Regions from separate parts of the Homo sapiens genome. Here region 1 is linked to region 2. Evidence: promoter capture Hi-C in 16 types of primary human blood cells and fetal thymus (Javierre and others, 2016). All regions are on one chromosome and are shown on one strand. The core of a region is centred on a gene start or on the middle of the fragment in contact, and the rest is flanking DNA. Distances in the headings are between cores, read along the strand shown.

Region 1 (6,228 bases), core at 50-2,549, 560 kb after region 2:
GTAGTGATGGTGGTTCCTGCTAAGGCTCAACAAATTTGAGGCACTTTCTGATTTTGTCATTTTCATTATAAGGCAATGACAATAGGAATGCTAACAGTCCTAATTCAGTGATTTTAAAAAGACTGAGTATTTTAAAAGTTAAAACAAAAGTCTACCAATAATATATAATGTTTTATATGTCAGAGAAACTGGTTATACTTAGCATAATGCACACCAGAAAACTCTGAGGTGCCATGGTGCATATTGGAGGCTAGGTAGGGAAGGGATGCTGGCAATAGGAAGTTTCTACTAGATTTTCGATGATTGTGGCACAAACAGCGTGCAAGCCCAGGTACTGTCTGCAGCCCTCGGTTTGGCAGCTGTAGGTGAAAACCCCAGTGAGTGTACGCCAGGCCTCCTTTCACGTGAAGGTCGTGGTCCCTCAAGAAGCAGAGCCAACTTACCCATTAGGCACAGCAGGCACTGCTCCCAGGGTCTGTGGTAATTTCAGGGACCCATGAATATGTCTTAAGTTCTTGTAATATCAGAAGAAAAATATGAATTTTGAGGTTAAAAAAGTTTTAATGTATTACATTAATATATTTGTCTTTATACCAACAGTCATAAGATAGAATTTTTAAGTGTGTGTGTGTGTGTGTGTGTGTGTGTGTGTGTGTGTAGGAAGGGGCCCAAGAGGACAAAAGTATCCAGGGCCCACGAAAGTCACAATGGACCCCTGTGCCCCTCTCTCTCACATGCTGTCCCCAGGAGCTCCAAAGCTTCCGGGTGGGCGGCCCAGGCGAGGTCAGCGTAGAAATGGACGCTGCCCCCGGAGTGGACCTCACCAGGCTCCTCAATGATATGCGGGCGCAGTATGAAACCATCGCTGAGCAGAATCGGAAGGACGCTGAAGCCTGGTTCATTGAAAAGGTAACACAAACAACAAAGGCTTTGATACATTCACAGAAAGGCCTGCGAACGAGCTCAGCGCTCGAGCCCCCTGGCTGTCTTTGCTGTTGCAGAGCGGGGAGCTCCGTAAGGAGATTAGCACCAACACCGAGCAGCTTCAGTCCAGCAAGAGCGAGGTCACCGACCTGCGTCGCGCCTTTCAGAACCTGGAGATCGAGCTACAGTCCCAGCTCGCCATGGTAGGCTCGTGCGCAAACAGACGTAGCATCCTTTGGACTTCCAAAGAAAATGCTGCATCCAAATTACATTAGCCGTTGGCTACCCTCCTCTTTTCGGTCCCCTCCATCGTTATTTCTATGCCATTTCCCTCCCACGTGCAGAAGAAATCCCTGGAGGACTCCTTGGCCGAAGCCGAGGGCGATTACTGCGCGCAGCTGTCCCAGGTGCAGCAGCTCATCAGCAACCTGGAGGCACAGCTGCTCCAGGTGCGCGCGGACGCAGAGCGCCAGAACGTGGACCACCAGCGGCTGCTGAATGTCAAGGCCCGCCTGGAGCTGGAGATTGAGACCTACCGCCGCCTGCTGGACGGGGAGGCCCAAGGGTGAGCAGACAACGGAGGCTGTAAACACCTTCAGGGGCTGACCAAGAGTGGGCAGCAGAAATAGAAGGAATGGGGTTTTAGTTGACAGAAAAGCAAACAAACAAACACAAGTCTAGTAAAGATATGCCTGGGATTTACTAAATGCTCTACACTTTGCAAAGTGTTTTCACCCATTATCTTACTTGATAATTCATAAAATGCTGCAAAGAACAAAGGCACCACGGTCAGAAACAGTTTGTAAATGAGTACTCCCTGTACTATAAAAGTCACTTACTCAATTTCTGATATCAAAGACCTGATGATAAGAAGGACACATAGTAGCCACCTGAACCACCTACTCTAACAAGCTTTCCAAAAGTGATCAGAGTCTGCACTAGTTGGAAGAACTCAGGCCTACAAATTGGGAAATCTAATTTCTCAGACCAGATCTTCCATTAAAAGCCAGGTTGTTTCACTTTTTGAGGTCATCTCCTTTGTTTTCTTACAGTGATGGTTTGGAGGAAAGTTTATTTGTGACAGACTCCAAATCACAAGCACAGTCAACTGATTCCTCTAAAGGTATGCAGAAACCCTAGAATCACTTAGAATAAGTCGGAATCACATTTATTAATGCAAAACCTGTAAGACCTCATTGACTACTGCATTATTATTAATTTTAATTTAAAGCATATTTATATTCTGAGCCAAGGAAAAACATTTATGCATTCCTGCACAAAATGAGTAGTCTATACCATATTAAAACTTTTGGGGGCCTGGGCATGGTGGCTCATGCCTGTAACCTCATAGCTTCGGGAACCTGAGGTGGGAGGATCGCTTGAGGCCAGGAGTTCGTGACCCACCTGGGCAAATAGCGAGACCCCATCTCTACAAAAAACTTAAGAAAAAAAATAGCTGGGTGTGGTGGTGTATACCTGTGATCTCGGCTACTCTGGAGGCTGAGGCAGGAGGACCGCTTGAGCCCGGGAGTTAGAGGTTATAGTGAGCTATGATCATGCCACTGCATTCCTACCTGGGCAACAGAGCCAGACCCTGTCTTTAAGAAAATTAAAATTAAAATTAAAAAATAAAAAAAATGGCAAAGCAGAAGGGAAAAAACCTACTCTGCTGCAAGGTATTATGATCACCATAACCACCTTTGAAATGTTTTCTTAAAAAAAGTTTTCATATATGTACAAGGCAACACTGAATACATTTCATTGTCATTGGCTAAAACACATTTTTGAGAAGTAAAATTTACTTTTGAAAGTTTAATTAGATGGATTGTATCAACCAATGCTTAATTTAGAAGCCTACATTAAACAACCAGTGTTGGATTAATATTTGAAACACTAACTCTTGCCCCCTTATTCCATTTTTATCTTTAGACCCAACCAAAACCCGAAAAATCAAGACAGTTGTGCAGGAGATGGTGAATGGTGAGGTGGTCTCATCTCAAGTTCAGGAAATTGAAGAACTAATGTAAAATTTCACAAGATCTGCCCCATGATTGGTTCCTTAGGAACAAGAAATTTACAAGTAGAAATTATTCCTTTCAGAGTAACATGCTGTATTACTTCAATCCCTATTTTTGTCTGTTCCATTTTCTTTGGATTCCCTATTCACATTGAATCCTTTTTGCCCTTCTGAAACAATATTCAGTCACAAGTCATTTTGGTCATGTTGGTCTTTGTAACAAATCAAAATTACCTTATATCCTTCTGGACCTGGAGTAGTCTTTTAACGAACTTTCTTCTGGTAACCCGGAATATTTTTTAATCATAGAGCTTTAATCAAGTAGTATTGTTTTAATAGAGTTAATTGTAATAAAAGATGAATGGTAATAATGTGAAATGTATGCCTTGATTCCAACAAGAATGTCAAGAGCATAGAGAGAAGTTTTTGAAATACTACTAATAAAATAGAGGCTGGGAGTAATGACTCACACCTATAATCCCAGCACTTTGGGAGGCTGAGAGGCAAGATGATTGCTTGAGGCCCGGAGTTCAAGACCAGCCTGGACAACATAGAGAGACCCCCATCTCTACACAACATTAATAATGATAATAATGATAATGTAGATAAAACTGGGATGAAGATGTCAGGGTTTGAGGATTAAGCTAAAAGAAGATTCTTTTAGAAGTTCTGGCCTTTTTATGTAAGCTCATCAAGGTTGTAGCAAAATTATATTGTCTACTACAGCAGTTGAGAGTTGTCCTGTTCATTTTCTAGCACCATCATTCATGCAGTCAAGAAACGCTGAGCCCCTACAGTGTGCCAGGTTGGAGGCTCAGTGATGAATATGATATGGTCCTTGCCTTGAGGAGCTCATGGTTGAGGGCAGAGATAAACACCTACCAAGAATGTTGATACAGTGAGATCTGTTGAATAGAAGTTCAAAGGGCTGGGCACCATGGCTCACGCCCGTAATCCCAGCACTTTGGGAGGCTGAGGCGGGCAGATCATGAGCTCAAGAGATCAAGACCATCCTGGCCAACATGGTGAAACCCCATCTTAACTAAAAATACAAAAATTAGCCGGGTGCAGTTGCAGGTGGCTGTAATCCCAGCTACTCAGGAGGCTGAGGCAGGCGAATCACTTGAACCCGGGAGGCGAAGGTTGCAGTGAGCCAAGATTGCACCACTGCACTCCAGCATGGCAATAGAGTGAGACTCTGTCTCAAAAAAAAAAAAAGCAAAAAAAAGAAAACAAACAGAACTTCGAAGGACACATGGAAGAAGTGAACAATTTTCCAGGAGGGGCAATGAAATGCTACATAAAGAAATCATCCAGGTAGACGAGGGAGAAAGGCAACAGGGCAAATACATGTGAAAAGACAGAGGGTGTGAACAAACATGGTTCTGCTCTCCTTTCTCCTAGCTGGCAGCAGTGAGGCCCAGGGTGGGGTCCCCACTGGGGCAGGTCAGACCCACAAGTCAGTAACAAAAATCATGTTCTGCATTAGGGAAAAAGGCAGCCAAAGTCTCAGCCTGAGTAGATGGTGGTTCAACATGGGTTGCCAAATTCAAAACCCTAAAAGGAAAATGGGCAAAATTCAATGATTAAGAGCCTGGCCTCTAACATCACACTGGGTTCAATTTCCGGCTCTGCTACTTAATAACAAGTAATTTAACCTCTGTGTTCCTCAGTTTCTTAAAGTGGAAATGATAGCAATGACTGCACCTGCTTCATGGCACGGGTTTTGTGAAGATGAAATGAGGTCGTGTACCTAAAGCACTAGGAACCTGGAAACTATTGGCACCTAGAAAGTACTCAATATTTGTGTCTTATTATTATTTACTGTATGAAACCAAAGTGGGATGAAGAAACAAGGAGACATGGTGAATAAGGAGTGTCAAAGAAGCAGAAGGGAGAGGGAGGAGTTGTGTTAGACAAGAGGAATTCCAGAGCTGAGTCCAAAGGCCAATGGCTAGTCAGCCAACTTAAGCTGATTTGCTTCAGTATGCAGCTTTTCCTTTTAATATCATTTATATGGCCAGATGCAGTGGCTCACGTCTGTAATCCCAGCACTTTGGGAGGCCAATATGGGCAGATTGCTTGGGCCCAGGAATTCAAGACCAGCCTGGACAACATGGTAAAACTCTGTCTCTACAAAAAAAATTTAAAAAATAAAAAAAAATTAGTCGGGTGTGGGGGTGCACACCTGTAGTCCCAGCTACTTGGGAGGCTGAGGTGGAAGGATTACCTGAGCCTGGGAAGGTCAAGAATGCAGTGAGCTGTTATCGTGCCACTGCACTCCAGCCTGGGCAACAGAGTAAGACCCTGTCTCAAAAAAAAGAAAAGAAAAAAATATTTTTAATGGTTTCAGATCCTCCACTCATCTCACTTTATTATACGCTCAGCTCTCTTTGTCTAGCCTTCACCTTCCAGCACACATCCTAGGGTAACCTTTACCTTTCAGACTCAAAAGGATTTTATCAAGGCCTCTGAACAAGGTCCACAGCCCCCAAGTAATAAATAAAGGATTCTACTTCCCTGGTGCTCAAAAGTGTCTGCAAATAGTTACTGCTTTAAATAACATCTGTTTTCCTTACAACTACATAAGAATGGTGTGAGACTCAAAGGGGAAAGGATTTTGCACAAGTATAAATGCAAGGGTCATTTATTAGCTAGTACCATAGTTTCTCAGCATTCCCTTCTCTTGGAAATTTTTTACCACAAAGCTCCCAGAGCCATCACTCTGTAGGCAGCTTTTTCTCAGACTTCTGTGACTGAATGTTGGCTCAATCCTCTTGTCTTTTCTCTATACTCCCTCCCCAGGTAACCTCATCTGATCCCTCCCCAGCCTCTCCTCCCTGATCTTATCCCATGGGTTTTGTTTGTTTGTTTGAGAGGGAGTCTCGCTCTGTTGCCCAGGCTGGAGTACAATGGTGTAATCTTGGCTCACTGCAACCTCCACCTCCCAGGTTCAAGCGATTCTTCTGCCTCAGCCTCCTGAGTAGCTGGGGCTATAGGCATACACCACCACGCCCAGCTAATTTTTGTAATTTTGGTAGAGACAGGGTTTTGCCATGTTGGCCAGGATGGTCTCCATCTCTTGACCTCATGATCTGCCCGCCTCGGCCTCCCAAAGTGCTGGGATTACAGGTGTGAGCCACCGCACCCAGCCAATCCCATGGTTTTAAATAGCACCCACATATTGGTGACTTGTGGCAGCCTCCAGGTTGGTGCCAGTGATCCCTGCCTCCTGGTCTTCATTCCCTTGTGTAGTTCCTTCTCACAATGAACGAGGAGCAGATTTA
Region 2 (6,086 bases), core at 958-3,457:
TAAGGTTTTGCTACTAGTATCAGCCATTTACTTTCCCACTAATTGGGATTTTTTTTTTTTTAAAGAGTTTATTTATACTCTTTTAGAGCTTGTCCCATGGTCCTTCTGGTTTCCCTCTACCACTTGGGAGGGATGACTCCTGGCCACACCCCCATTGGTTGACTTGTTTTCCAGCTCTACTGGAAATCTCTGGGATTTGGGATATACAGTCAGAATGTTTCTGTCAACGACAGACCACATATACGGGCGGTGGTCCCACAAGATTATAATGATGCTGAAAATTCCTATTCTCTAGTGATGTGGAAGTGGTTATAATGTCGTAGTGCAATGCATTACCTTTTCTATGTTTAGATACACAAATATTATCGTGTTAATAATAGTTGCCTATGATACTCAGTACAGCAACATGCTGTACAGGTTTGTAGCCAGGTGCTATAGGCTGTGCTATACAGTCTAGGTGTGTAGTAGGCTCTACCATCTAGGTTTGTGTGAGTTCCCCCTATAATGTTTCCACAGTGAAGAAATCTCTTAACGACGCATTTCTCAGGACGCACCCTGTCTTAAATGATGCATATGTTACAAACTAGCGTAACTTTTTTTTTCTTTTTTGAGACAAAGTGTCAATCTTGTTGCTCAGGCTGGAGTGCAATGGCGCAATCTTGGCTCACGGAAACCTCCGCCTCCCGGGTTCAAGCAATTCTCCTCCTCAGCCTCCTGAGTAGCTGGGATTACAGGCATGTACCACCATGCCCGGCTAATTTTATATTTTTAGTAGAGACCGGTTTTCTCCATGTTGTTCATGCTGGTCTCGAACTCCTGACCTCAGGTGATCCGCCTGCCTTGGCCTCCCAAAGTACAGGGATTACAGGCGTGAGCCACCGCGCCCGGCCTAGTTTAACTTTTTAAAGTGCATTTTCTTGTTGTCACTGCCATAGTATTTAAATCTTTTCCTTTGCTGGAACACAAAGACCTTCAGTAATTTTCTTTTCACCACAATTTCTCATCCAGTAACTAAGCCCCTTCTTGCCCTCTCCTTAGGCCCAGCACTGACGGGGCAATGACACCGTTGTTCTCACCGGGGGCCATGATGAAGTGAAAAGAGAATGGGCCTAGCAGACATGAGACTGAATCGAGCCTTTGCCAGTTCACTAACTGTCAATCAGAAAATGTGCAAATGTACTTCACTCTAGTTTTCTCATCTGTACATTGAGGCAATGAGTAACCACCTCATAGGTGGTAAGGGTTAGATAGGAAAGAACACAGTAGAATGCCTAGCACACCTAAGTACTCAATCAATGTTAGTTCTGGACCTTTCATTTGAATACTGCTTGAGCTCTGTGCCCAATCTCCCTTTCCTGGATCAAATAAGATTTTTCTTTGTTAGTGATTTCTTTCTAGATACTTCCTTGGCCAGAACTATAGATCCTCTGTCTTTCACTAACTCTTGTTGATCTATGGTTCTCATTCAAGTTTGTGTAGAACATCCAGAGATTTCAGAGGCATTGTTTACTCCTGATGAACAGGGAACATTGCGTGTCCAGGAACCAGCACACTGCCTGAGTTATGGGGGATATTCAGGAAGCATGCTGAACCAATGAATGAATGAACAAATGAATGAATAGCTGATTCTGACTAGTCAACCAAAACTTAATTAGCGCCATTGCTTCCAGATGTTATTGCTTCTCAAGGGAGTATGCAATGTGAAAGAAGAAAGAAAAAAAGGCGCCTCTCAATCGTCAAATATCAGTAGATGCATTGGTTTTATTAACTGATATTTTCTCTTCAAAGGAAAGGCTGATTCAGTCTTGCACAGGCGAAAGATCCAGTGGGTCCCATTGGTTCTCTGTGTCTCCTGCTACACAAATTACTGACGGAAAGATTTGAGCCTTCATTGTGACCACATCCACAGAGACCATAGTCCAGAGAGAGCAATTGGGGCCTGAATCAACTGCTGGTGTTTGTTGAGCAGAAACAGTGAGTCTCTGACTTCCCACCAACAGCTAACCTGATATGGAAGAGCCAAGAGGCATCTCAGATTTGTCAACATTGCTTTAATGAGCTGAGGAACTTCTCATGGTAAACTCAGCAGCTGAGTAACAGGATGATGGCACCACAACAGGTAGATAATCAAGGCAGGAGGTCAAAGCACTGGAGCCAACACCCGCCCAGGATGGGGTATAAAAGGGTTGGGAGGAGAGGAGGCTTCAGTCTCAGTGGCTCAGCCTTCCCAGCTGATCTGAAGCTCCTGTGCAGCCTCAGCCCTACACCATGACCTCCTTCTACAGCACCTCCTCATGCCCTCTGGGTTGCACCATGGCTCCTGGAGCAAGAAATGTCTTTGTCTCTCCTATCGATGTTGGGTGCCAGCCTGTGGCAGAGGCCAATGCTGCCTCCATGTGCCTCTTGGCCAACGTGGCACACGCCAACAGAGTCCGTGTGGGGTCGACTCCCCTGGGCCGCCCCAGCCTCTGTCTGCCCCCAACCAGTCACACTGCTTGTCCCTTGCCAGGGACCTGTCACATTCCCGGCAACATCGGAATCTGTGGGGCCTACGGCAAAAACACCCTGAATGGCCATGAGAAGGAGACCATGAAGTTCCTGAATGACCGCCTGGCCAACTACCTGGAGAAGGTGCGCCAGCTGGAGCAGGAGAATGCAGAGCTGGAGACCACACTCCTCGAGAGGAGCAAGTGCCACGAGTCCACCGTGTGCCCCGACTACCAGTCCTACTTCCGTACAATCGAGGAGCTCCAGCAGAAGGTGAGGTGTGGGATCGCCTGGGCATGCTGGGTCTGAGAAGGCAGAAGCCTTCGCAGGAGGAATCTGCATAAGGTCCAGAGAGCTTTGGGTTCTTGGTTTCTCTTGGACATGAGCGTAAATACCACACATGGAGTGGGAGCTTAGAGTATGGTGCTTTGTGTGTGAACCGTCTTTCCGTTTTCCTCAGATCCTGTGCAGCAAGGCTGAGAATGCCAGGCTGATTGTACAAATTGACAACGCGAAGCTGGCTGCTGATGACTTTAGGATCAAGTAAGTCAGGATGAGGAGGGTCAGTGTGACTTCTCTCCTGCTGTATTTCCAAGGGCCCGCCCCATTACTCAGTCTATATTGTAGGTGTTCAAAAACAGTTTTTGACTAGAAGAATATTTCTCTCCACACCTTAAATTAGCCTGTTGCTAGAAATGGTCATTATATAGGAGGAAAGAGAATATAAGCATTGAAAGAAAAAGAAGGGCTGTAGTCTAGATTGGTTAGAACCTATGTCACTTTCTCCCATATCTAGAAGATAAGAGGATTTTGCTTTTCAATCAGAAGTAAAATTGAGTCATCACAAAAATAAACTGTCAATGCATAGGTTGTTGCTAGACTCTCTGACTCTTGGCCAAATCCATCAGCTGGAGGAATTGTCATTGAAGCTCCTTGGTAGCTAGAGTTGTGCTTGAATGAAGGGGAAAAGCAAGAAAACAACGAGAAATAATGAATCCAAGAGGAAAAGCAGCAAACTGAAGGTCCAGAGGCTTATTTTTAGCCATTCTTTTTCCTGGCCAAATGACTCCTATTATGGCAGAATAAATGCTGCATTTGAAGTCAGAACACTTAGGATGAGTCCATGCATTTACTATTAACTGGGCATGGAATTCTGAACAACTCGTGTTTTGTTTCTGAGCCTCAGTCTTCCATCTGGTCAATGGGCATAATGTCCTGACTACAAACCGTGTCGCTGCAGGGTTGAGAATAGTGTATACTGCCCACGTGAACAAATAAGGATCCAAGGTGGTGTGGGAGGTAGGAAGCCAGGGCAGCTGAGAGGGGCTATTGGGGCATTCTTTTTGACCCTGTGCCTCCTGTGACGGAAGGCTGGAGAGTGAGCGCTCCCTTCACCAGCTGGTGGAGGCGGACAAGTGCGGGACGCAGAAGCTCCTGGATGACGCGACCCTGGCCAAGGCCGACCTGGAGGCCCAGCAGGAGTCCCTGAAGGAGGAGCAGCTCTCCCTCAAGAGCAACCACGAGCAGGTGTGGCCCTGGCTGCTCAGACTCCTGGGGAGGGCGCTGGGCAGACAGGGGAGCTCCCCGGCCCTGGGGCTCTCAGAGCATTGCCTGGGCTCAGCTGGCCTAAGGATGCAGGGCTGAGGTGGGTCTGAGGGTCCAGAGGGCCTCTGTGGAAAGTGCAGACTTGCCTTGGGCATGAGGAAGGTGTCCAGGTGGGCTCTCCCAAATGCACTCTGGACAAGACTTTCCCATTTGCTTATGTGTGGGACTCCCCTCCTACTGCTTGCCAGGGACGGAGTCCTGGTGCTGTCTGCTCCATCAAAGGCCGTTTCCTTACGCAGGCTGTCTATCGCTTCCATTTCTGCAGGAAGTAAAGATTCTGAGGAGTCAGCTGGGGGAGAAGTTCCGGATCGAGCTGGACATTGAGCCCACCATTGACCTGAACAGGGTGTTGGGGGAGATGCGGGCTCAGTACGAGGCCATGGTGGAGACCAACCACCAGGATGTGGAACAGTGGTTCCAAGCCCAGGTGAGTGGGGGTTACAGAGCCAGGGAGTACCTGGCCTCCATCTGAGCAGGGAGGTGACTGTGTTTCTCTGTGCTCCAGTCTGAAGGCATCAGCCTGCAGGCCATGTCCTGCTCCGAGGAGCTGCAGTGCTGCCAGTCGGAGATCCTGGAGCTGAGATGCACGGTGAATGCCCTGGAGGTGGAGCGCCAAGCCCAGCACACCTTGGTACGTGTCCTTCACCCTCACTGCACTGCAAATGCCCCATGCCATGTCCTGGTAGTAGCATCTCTTAAAGTCTCACAAATCAGTTCCTTCAACATTAAGTCAAGATCTGGGGTCCTCTATACCCGATGGAGACGTCTTGCTGTCAAGTTCAGTGTGACCCAGGGAAATGGTTTCTTCAGAAAATCAAGTCCACTTCCTTTACAACACAGTGCGGAAGTTCAGGCACTCACTCCACAAGATTTTACGAGGTGCCTGCTTTTTGTCAAGCACTGGGGATACAGGGATGAACATGACAGTTCCTTAAGTTAGATTTGTGTGCATGAGAGAGAAGTCATGGTCATGTTGACAGTGATTTCTCCAGAGCTCTGAGAATGTCCTATGACATTTTGGAATTTGCCCTATGTGTGATGAGTTTGGTCATGATTTTCACTGCTGAGTTTTGGGGCACCTGGATCTCTTACCCCATTATTTCCCATTACAGAAGGACTGTCTGCAGAACTCCCTGTGTGAAGCGGAGGACCGCTACGGCACAGAGCTGGCCCAGATGCAGAGCCTCATTAGCAACTTGGAAGAGCAGTTGTCTGAGATCCGGGCCGACCTGGAGCGGCAGAACCAGGAGTACCAGGTGCTGCTGGACGTGAAGGCCCGGTTGGAGAACGAGATTGCCACATACCGGAACCTTCTGGAGAGCGAGGACTGCAAGTACGTGTGATCTGGGCAATTCCTAAGCCACACACATGACTGTCAGGCAATTCCTCAGAGGTAATGGAAGTGCTTGCAGAAGATATCATCTTAACAAACAAGCCTTCCTGTGCTCTCTTGCTCAGTGACTCATTAACCTCTCCTGGTCTGTGCAGACTGGATTATTGAGAAAATGTTCTCTAAATGATAGCCAGGTCCCTAAGCCAAATCTTCCCCAAGGATTCCTGGATGTAGAAAGACACAGATGAGAGAACTGTTGGTATAGATTCTCTGGTCTGTGTGCCTTGTTGGTGGCAGGCCCAGCCTTCACCCTGATCTTACCCTTGTCCATCAATCACTGAGACATCTTTTTAATGTAACTCTTCTTTCTCTCCCTGCAGACTCCCCTGCAATCCCTGTTCCACGCCTGCCTCCTGTACTTCTTGTCCAAGCTGTGGCCCTGTCACCGGTGGGTCTCCCTCTGGCCATGGAGCCAGCATGGGGAGATGATTCTGAAGGCCCGAGTTAGGAGATTGAGGCTGGTTGCACTGGGGTCAGGAGTGCCCTCACCTTGCCCAGTCTTCCTTCAAGACTAGACTCACTGAGGCATTTTCCCTAAATCAACCGGTAGCAGATACTTCCAAGGAGTGGCTCCCTGCCTATGCCTCTAAGCTGTATTTTT

The links. The method cuts DNA at HindIII sites, captures the fragments that hold promoters and counts their contacts. A CHiCAGO score of 5 or more calls a contact.
Region 1: a contact is called between a fragment that was not itself captured here and the fragment with the promoter of KRT37 in region 2, in 5 of 17 cell types (erythroblasts, M1 macrophages, naive B cells and 2 more). The highest score is 9.7, in erythroblasts.

The regions. Positions count from the first base shown.
Region 1 is chr17:40,858,384-40,864,611 of GRCh38, reverse strand. KRT12 (keratin 12) reads left to right here. Exons shown (of 8, transcript NM_000223.4): 4 at 748-909; 5 at 1,002-1,127; 6 at 1,269-1,489; 7 at 1,977-2,047; 8 at 2,854-3,309. The coding sequence ends at 2,951. The region is part of intron 1 of LOC105371777 (a long non-coding RNA gene); the gene reads right to left. Among named protein-coding and RNA genes, the nearest start is that of KRT12, 5.7 kb to the left of the region's middle. The HindIII fragment of the contact is 1,078 bases long and covers 761-1,838 here.
Region 2 is chr17:41,420,706-41,426,791 of GRCh38, reverse strand. KRT37 (keratin 37) reads left to right here and starts at 2,207. Exons shown (of 7, transcript NM_003770.5): 1 at 2,207-2,760; 2 at 2,948-3,030; 3 at 3,858-4,014; 4 at 4,358-4,519; 5 at 4,598-4,723; 6 at 5,205-5,425; 7 at 5,806-6,086. The coding sequence starts at 2,269. The coding sequence ends at 5,914. RefSeq lists a silencer at 5,381-5,675. The HindIII fragment of the contact is 11,234 bases long and covers 1-6,086 here.